Regions from separate parts of the Homo sapiens genome. Here all the other regions are linked to region 1. Evidence: promoter capture Hi-C in human tissues and cell types (Jung and others, 2019). All regions are on one chromosome and are shown on one strand. Each heading gives the region's core, a stretch centred on a gene start or on the middle of the fragment in contact. The rest is flanking DNA. Distances are from core to core; before and after follow the strand shown.

The links. Contacts are between HindIII fragments. The study calls those that stand out against the background at their distance.
Region 2: a fragment that was not itself captured here is called in contact with the fragment with the promoter of CORO7 in region 1 in 1 of the 25 tissues and cell types used here (dorsolateral prefrontal cortex).
Region 3: a fragment that was not itself captured here is called in contact with the fragment with the promoter of CORO7 in region 1 in 4 of the 25 tissues and cell types used here (IMR-90 fibroblasts, bladder, dorsolateral prefrontal cortex and 1 more).

What each region holds. Positions count from the first base shown.
Region 1 is chr16:4,415,301-4,417,860 of GRCh38, forward strand. CORO7 (coronin 7) reads right to left here and starts at 1,296. Exons shown (of 28, transcript NM_024535.5): 1 at 1,159-1,296. The coding sequence starts at 1,218. It overlaps CORO7-PAM16 (CORO7-PAM16 readthrough), which reads right to left and starts at 1,296. Exons shown (of 31, transcript NM_001201479.2): 1 at 1,159-1,296. The coding sequence starts at 1,218. LOC124903635 (a long non-coding RNA gene) reads right to left here. Exons shown (of 3, transcript XR_007064963.1): 3 at 1,425-1,661. The HindIII fragment of the contact is 38,450 bases long and covers 1-2,560 here.
Region 2 is chr16:3,951,426-3,953,985 of GRCh38, forward strand. It overlaps a transcript of ADCY9 not described here. Among named protein-coding and RNA genes, the nearest start is that of TRIDDENT, 2.3 kb to the left of the region's middle. The HindIII fragment of the contact is 4,154 bases long and covers 1-2,560 here.
Region 3 is chr16:4,108,080-4,110,639 of GRCh38, forward strand. All of the region lies in intron 2 of ADCY9 (adenylate cyclase 9), which reads right to left. Among named protein-coding and RNA genes, the nearest start is that of ADCY9, 7.1 kb to the right of the region's middle. RefSeq lists an enhancer at 363-862. The HindIII fragment of the contact is 6,430 bases long and covers 1-2,560 here.

The DNA of each region.
Region 1 (2,560 bases), core at 46-2,545:
CATTTCTCCACCAGGCTCTTTCTCAATTCTCACCCTTCTGGCCTCAGCTAAAATGCCATCTACTCCAGGCAGCCTTTCCTGACCACGCTACTGAGACTGGCCCCCTCCATTCTCCATCCCAGTCCCTCATGTGTGTTCTTCAATGTCGTTATGAAAACCTCCAATGCTCTTGTTTGTCTGCTTGCTGTCTCCCTCATGAGGCTACAAGTGCCACAGGGGAAGGAAAATGCCGTTGTGTTCACCGGGATGTCTCCAGCAGCTTAGCACAGCATAAAGTGGAAGCAGAGGAAATATAGTCCACACTACAAAAACGGAACCTCTACCCAGACTGCCCTGACTTGCTCTGGGACCCTGATGGGGTCACTTGAGGTCAACTCCTAGGCCCAGTTATCGGAGGACACTCCCAGGCCTTACAAATAACACGGAAAGCGGAAGAGCAGAGCTGACATCGTTTCCAAGGCGCACCCCTCATCAGTCCTCCTGCCGTTTCGGGGGTCCGAAGGGTCTCCCGGCACCTGGCTCAGCAATTCTTTGGGGCTCCACCTGCTCAGGCTTCCCCAGGCCCCACCCAGCCGTGGCAGCATCACCGAGATAAAGAAAGAGCTTGCGCCAGCGGCGAGAGGAGGAAGCACCGGCGGAAACCCGAGGGAGGGGCGCGTGCGGCCGAGGGGCTCCCTCCCCACCACTGACACACTTGGGCTCGCCGGGGCCAGAGGAGAGAGGGGCGTCTCCCCACAGCCCAGCCAGGGGCAGGGGCGACCCGGGGCGGCAGGGAGGAGGAGCCAGGCGCCGGCAGCGCCCCGAGCCCCGGCTCCCGGCGAGGCCGACCGGAAGCTGGGAAGGCAGGCGGCCTCGCAGGCCTGGGCCCCGGCTAGGAGGGCTGCGCCGCCTCGGGGGTCCCGGGGCGAGGTGGGCGAGGCGGGCAGACCGCCAGGGTCACCGAGCGCCAGAGCGAGTCACGGGAGTGCCGGACTCTGCCCTCCGGCGGCGACGAAACGGCCCGGACGCCGGGGCCCTGGCCTGAAGGGGGGTTCCCCGGGGATGGAGGTCTCGGGGTTCCAGACGGCCCTGGAGGGCACCCCTGTGGGGTCCGGGCAGGGGGAGGGGCAGCCGGACGGGGCCCGAGGCGACAGCGCCCGGTCCTCGGGCCGGACTCACCTCGCGGCGGGGCGGCCGAGCCTCGGTGTGCCGGAACTTGGACACCCTGAAGCGGTTCATGGCGACGGGCACGGCGGCGGACGCGTCTTCGAGGACCCCGGGCGTCGGGTCTCAGGTGCACGCTGAGCAACCGCGACTCCCGCTGCCTCGGCCCCACCCGGGACCCAATGCCGCGGTCACGCCCCCGGCGCGCCCCACTGCCAATCGCAGCCGTCTCCGGCCCCCTGGGCCACGCCCCCAAGCCCCTCTCCTTTCGCGCGCGCACCACCGGTCCCGCCTCCCGGCCAATCCAGGTACGGCCGCCCCGCGAGGCCACGCCCTGATACCGAGGGGACGGACTGGCGCGGGTGGGAGGTCACGTGGGGCGCAGCTGTCAGCCCACGTCTCCTGCGGTGCTTGCTTGCGTGGGGTCTCGGCTGCAGCATTCGCGATTTTGTGTGCAGGATTTGCTGTGGAGTCTTTGCGGTGTACCTAGCACGCCTTCCAGCACTATCTACCTCTTCCTGTAGAGAGGGGAGAAATTAGCTCCATTTCAGAGACAGGAAACCCCCGGCTAAAGGAGAGTGTAAACTGTCGGTCCCCAGGTCACACCAGTGGTAAGAGGCAGAGGGGGAACAGGGGCCCAGGTCTAAAGCAAATCCCTGTCCACCGGGCCTACTCAAAAGCCTCTGCATCCGGCCAGGCGCTCTGCATCCGGCCAGGCGCGGTGGCTCAGGTCTGTAATCCCGAACTTTGGGAGACTGAGGCAGGAGTATCCCTTGAGCCCAAGAGGTCGAGGCTGCAGTTATCTGTGACCGTGCCACTGCACTCCAGCCTGGGAGACAGAAAGAGACCCTGCCTCTAAAAATAATAATAATAATAGCTTTTAATTTTTCTTTAGTATTTATTCATTTATTTGACACGGAGTCCCTGTCACCCAGGCTGGAGTGCAGTGGCGCGATCTCAGCTCACTGCACCCTCTGCCTCGCGGGTTCAAGCAATTCTCTTGCCTCAGCCTCCCGAATAGCTGGGATTACAGGCGCCTGCCACCGCGCCCAACTAATTTTTTATTTTTAGTAAGAGACGGGGTTTCACCATGATGGTCAGGCTGGTCTCGAACGAGACTCAAGCAGTCCTCCCAACTTGGCCTGCCAAAGTGTGGGGATTATAGGAATGAGCCAACGCACCCAGCTGATTCTTGCATTTCTAAGGTTTGAAAAGCAATGCTTACATTTTATCTTAGTTCGGGCAGAAGTGTATTTACTGTGAACCAAAGTCACTTGTGGTTTATTGAAAAGGCTTTTTGTTTGTTTGTTTTGAGACAGAGTCTCACTCTGTTGCCCAGGCTGGAGTGCAGTGGTGTCATCTCAGCTCACTGCAACCTCCACCTCCTGAGTTCAAGCGATTCTCCTGCTTCAGCCTC
Region 2 (2,560 bases), core at 38-2,537, 460 kb before region 1:
TTTAGTAAAGAGGGGGTTTCACCATGTTGGCCAGGCTGGTCTCAAACTCCTGGCCTCAAGCAGTCCTCCTGCCTTGGCTTCCCAAAGTGCTGGGATTACAGGCATGAGCCACCGTGCCCGGCTGGGATGACTATTTTAATCTCAAGAGAGCCATCTGGGTTCCTTCCAGGGCACAATTCTATTTAAGGATATACTTTCTTATTTTTACACAAGTTTGATAACTGGATAAAAAAAAGACGAACTTTTTTTTTTTTTTTTTTGCATGGACCAAAAAATGTAGCCATAAGAGCATTTGTTAATACGCACGTCTAACATCCTCCTTCCCACCTCCCTGTGCAGCACAAAGTGGTAAAGACAGCAAGAATTTTCTTTCTAAACAGTTGGGCTGAAATTAAACAACAACAACAACAAAAACCCAAATGCCCATTCTCCTCCCAGCGGAAGTACAACCTCTCTTTGTATCATGTTACTCATCCGCTGCACACACCTGTTCATCCAACAACAGCTAACAAAAGTCAGACTCCGAGTTAAGCGATGTACACATCACAGTTTGTGCTGGAAATCTGATCCAAGCACATGGACAGAACTTTCTATGGTTCTCGGCTCCTAAGCTTGGCAGCTTGTTTTCAGCGTATTCTTAAAAACCTAGGAAACTGGCAATCATACTTCTAAGTTAAAAGATTGGGAAATCAGGCCAGTGAATAAATACTTACTTTGGATCTGCACTATTGATGAAAAATAAAAAATCACTGGAAAAAAATGAGCCCCTTTCTTCTATTTTTGCTCAAAGCAGTCCAAAGAAAACAAGTTTTGGTTCACTGCTGTCTGTGAGCTCAGTGTTGAACAAATTCCAGCAAAATCACAGAGAAAGTTGGAACCAGATTTGCAGCGCTCTATCTCATACATGTTTCTTCTTCTTCTTTTTTTTTAAGAGACAGGGTCTCGCTCTGGTGCCCAGGCTGGAGTGCAATGGCACAATCACAGTTCACTGCAGCTTTGAACTCCTGGATTCAAGCGATCCTCCTGCCTCAGGCTTCTGAATAGCTGGGACCACAGGCACGCACCACCACCCCCAGGTGCCTTTTATATCATTTGTAGAGATGGGGTCTCACTATGTTGCCCAGGGTGGAGTGCAGTGGCATGATCATAGCTCACTGCAGCCTCCAACCCCTGTTGCCAAGGCTGGTTCCAAACTCCTGGGCTCAAGTGATCCTCCCACTGTGGTCTCCTAAAGCACTGGGATTATAGACGTGAACCACCACAGCTACCCCGTGGTTCTTAAAAAGGGGTCTCCTTAAAAAGGAAGCTTCACCTTCCTTTTTGGTGTGAGGGAGACAGACCGTCAGGGAGAGGGCACTTTGTTCTTCTAATTGCCTTTCTGCAGAGGTTCCTGCTCAAGGAACGGGACGCCTAAACCTCAAATCCCCAGTGGCATTCAAGGCTGCTCGCAGGCACAGGGCGTGTTCTGGCCAATCCTGTTCGAGCAAGGGGAGCTGACATTGGCCCAGCACAGGCAGGCTGCACAGAGCTGCAGCCCATTCTTCCTGGAAGCGCCTGCATCAGAGCCAAGGACAGGCCACCTAGTAGCAGTGTCCCTGGAGCCTGGTGCTTGGCTCAGTACATTAAAATGCAACAACCAGGCCGGGTACAGCAGTTCATGCCTGTAATCCCAGCATTTTGGGAGGCTGAGGTGGGCGGATCACTTGAGGTCAGGAGTTCGAGACCAGCCTGGCCAACATGGCGAAATCCCATCTCTACTAAAAATACAAAAATTAGCTGGGCGTGGTGGCCTGTGCCTATAGTCCCAGCTACTTGGGAGGCTGAGGCAGGAGAATCACTTGAACCTGGGAGGCAGAGGTTGCAGTGAGCCGAGATCGCGCCACTACACTCCAGCCTGGGCGACAGAGCGGGGCTCCATCTCAAAAAATATATACGTATTTCACAGATACAGTCCTTCCTCGTTTTGGTAATTGACAGAGCATAAGCAGTTTTTAATTTTTTCAAATTTACAATTAGGCTCCTGCACGGCAACTCTCTTCCTGTGAACTGAAGGGAAACTTGGAGTCTCCCTCTCCACAGGGTTCTCGTCTTCTGGAAAAGAGAAGATGGGAAAATGCGGATAAGAAGAGGGTTAGAGGGGAGGAAAGAAATAAAAACCGAGCAATTTCTAGAAAACATGATGATTAAAAAAAAACCATCCACGCTTTTGGAATGGACGGATTCTTTAACACCTGTGGATTTCCTTATTCTGTGACTAGCAAGCTCCCAAGCCCACAGGTAGGAAGCTTCAGCCAGTGTGTGTGGAAAAAACGCCGGTTTTGGGATACGACGGACAAGTCAGAAGCCTGCTTGAACCGCCGTCACCCCTTTGCAGCCATCCAACACCACGAACAGCAAAAACATCAGGTTCTGGCAACCTGTGGGGACAAAGTGACCATCAGCACGGGGAGGTCGCTGTCAGAGCCGCGTCACAGCTCTTACGCCTCCCAGAATGGTTTTTGGTGTGAGGATTGCTGCATGGATTGAGAAGGTGGAATTTGATTGGAATAACTGGATCATC
Region 3 (2,560 bases), core at 42-2,541, 310 kb before region 1:
ATGACCATGGGTGTGGATGAGAGCGGAGGAGCATCTTCATTCTGTCTTCCTAATATTTACACGGGAAAAGAAGATGCCTGTAGATATTTTCTAACAGTTTCATTTTCTGTCTTTGTGACCCTGTATCTATGACAGGAAAAGCCAACAGCTCGAGATAACACGTCTCACCATTTTTTGCTTGTGGCCCAAGGCAGAATACAACAGCCACGGTTCCCTCAGGCCTAGCGGTTTCATCCCAAATGCTGTGGAAGGTCCCTCACCTTAATCAGACCGTTTCTTCATTTTTTTTTTTTTTTTTTTTTTTTTTTTTTGGCGACAAAGTCTCGCCCTATCGCCCAGGCTGGAGTGCAATGGCACGATCTCGGCTCACTGCAAACTCCACCTCCTGGGTTCGAACGATTCTCCTGCCTCAGCTTCCCAAGTGGCTGGGACTAAAGGCGCCTGCGACCACACCCAGCCAATTTTTGCATTTTCAGTAGAGACAGGGTTTCACCATGTTGGTCAGGCTGGTCTCAAACTCCTGACCTCCTGATCTGCCCACCTCGGTCTCCCAAAGTGCTGGGATTACAGGCATGAGCCACCACGCCCGGCCCATTTCTCCATATCTTTAATAACTGTCCCTCACACTTTTTTTTTTTTTTTTGAGACAGGGTCTCATTCTTGTCGCCCAGGCTGGAGTGCAATGGTGCAATCTTGGCTCACTGCAACCTCCGTCTCCCAGGTTCAAGCAATTCTCCTGCCTCAGCATCCCGAGTAGCTGGGATTACAGGTACCTGCCACCACACCTGGTTAATTTTTGTATTTTTAGTAAATATGGGGTTTCACCACGTTGGCCAGGCTGGTCTCAAACTCCTGACCTCAGGTGATCCGCCTACCTCGGCCTCCCAAAGTGTTGAGATTACAGGCATGAGCCACCATGCCTGGCCCCTCACTTTTTAGATTATTTCCAAAATCCTAGCAGTATGCTAAAAATTCCTGCAACCTTCTCCCAGTGACTGGCCACCCTAGATAAGATTTCTCACACTCGTACACCCCATCTGCTGTATCCCCTTCCTGCTTTATGTTTGTTCACAAAACACTTTTTCTATTTTACTTATTTATGGTTTGACTCCCCTGTTGTCCCCTCTATTAGATCTCCCCTATTTGAAGGCCTGGTTTTTGTTTCTTAGAGACAGGGTCTCACTCTGTCGCCCAGGCTGGAATGCAGTGGTGCAATCACGGCTCTCTGCAACCTCGACCTCGTGGGCTCCAGCGATCCTCCTATATTATTGACTTAAAAATTCTTGTCCCCTATTACAAGAGCAGGAATTGTTGTCTGTTTTGTTTACGGCTGTATTGCCAGAACCCAGAACCGTGCCTGGCACGGAGTAAATGATTTGCTGAATGAGTAAGCAAGCCAGGGGTTCCGGGCCTCTGTACTCTGCAAGTCCATCCTGCATTCTCCATTCATACCATAGCAACTTCAAAGGCCCCTCACCCATTCCTGACTCCACATTGTCGCCAAGTCACTTCCAGAAACTTAAAATGCCATTTCCCATTCACATGGTCAAGCCCTTCCCCTCCTGCCAGTCGTTTGTTTAAATCTGGCTTGCAGTCCCATCAAGCTGCTCTTCCTAATGCCACTCAGATCCCATCACCTCCATCACTGCTACTGTAACTTTGGATTGGGCCACCATCACCCCTACCTGGGATTTACTCGACACCTCATTAATCTCTTTCCAACCCACACTCACTAGCTCTGAAAGAGTGAACTTTCTAAAACTGCAAGTCAGATCACCTAAGCCCCCTGTTGAGTGGTTCCCTGACACCTATGGGGTCAAATGCAAACTCCTTCCCACGCTACCCATGGCCTTCCTTGTCCTGATGAACAACTAACAATCGTCCGCCCCCACAGAGAAGCACAGGGCCCAGCCATACCCACCTCTCCGCTCTGCCCTGGTGCTCTTCTGTCCACCTGGAGAGCCACAGCCTGATCTCAGGACCCAGCTCCAGCAGGAGCCCCCTCTAAAGCGCTCCCCACTCCCGAACATACTCCACAACATTTTTAACTGTGAGCTCACGGAGGTTGGGAACTATTAACGCAGGTCAGACGCGCCCCAAAGTGGGGCCGAGCCCAAGAGGGTTCTTGGCTTTGCCCAGGAAATAATTCAAGGGTGAGCCGGTGGCAGGAAAGAAAACACCTTTATTGAAGAGGCAGGCAGTGTTATACGGCTCCATGACTGCTCCTGCAGAGCTGGGCTTTCCCAAAGGCGGAAAGTAGCAGCTCAGGGCAGTTTTGCAATCATACTTATACCTACTTTTTTTTTTTTTTTTTTTTTTTTTTGAGACGCAGTCTCGCCTAGGCTGTCGCCCAGGCTGGAGTGCAGTGGACATGATCACAGCTCACTGCAACCTCCACCTCCTGGGTTCAAGCGATTCTTCTGCCTCAGCCTCCCGAGCACCTGGGATTACAGGCGCACACCACCACACCAGGCTAATTTTTGTATTTTTAGTAGAGACGGGGTTTCACTATATTGGCCACACTGGTCTCCAACTCATGACCACAGGTGATCCACCCGCC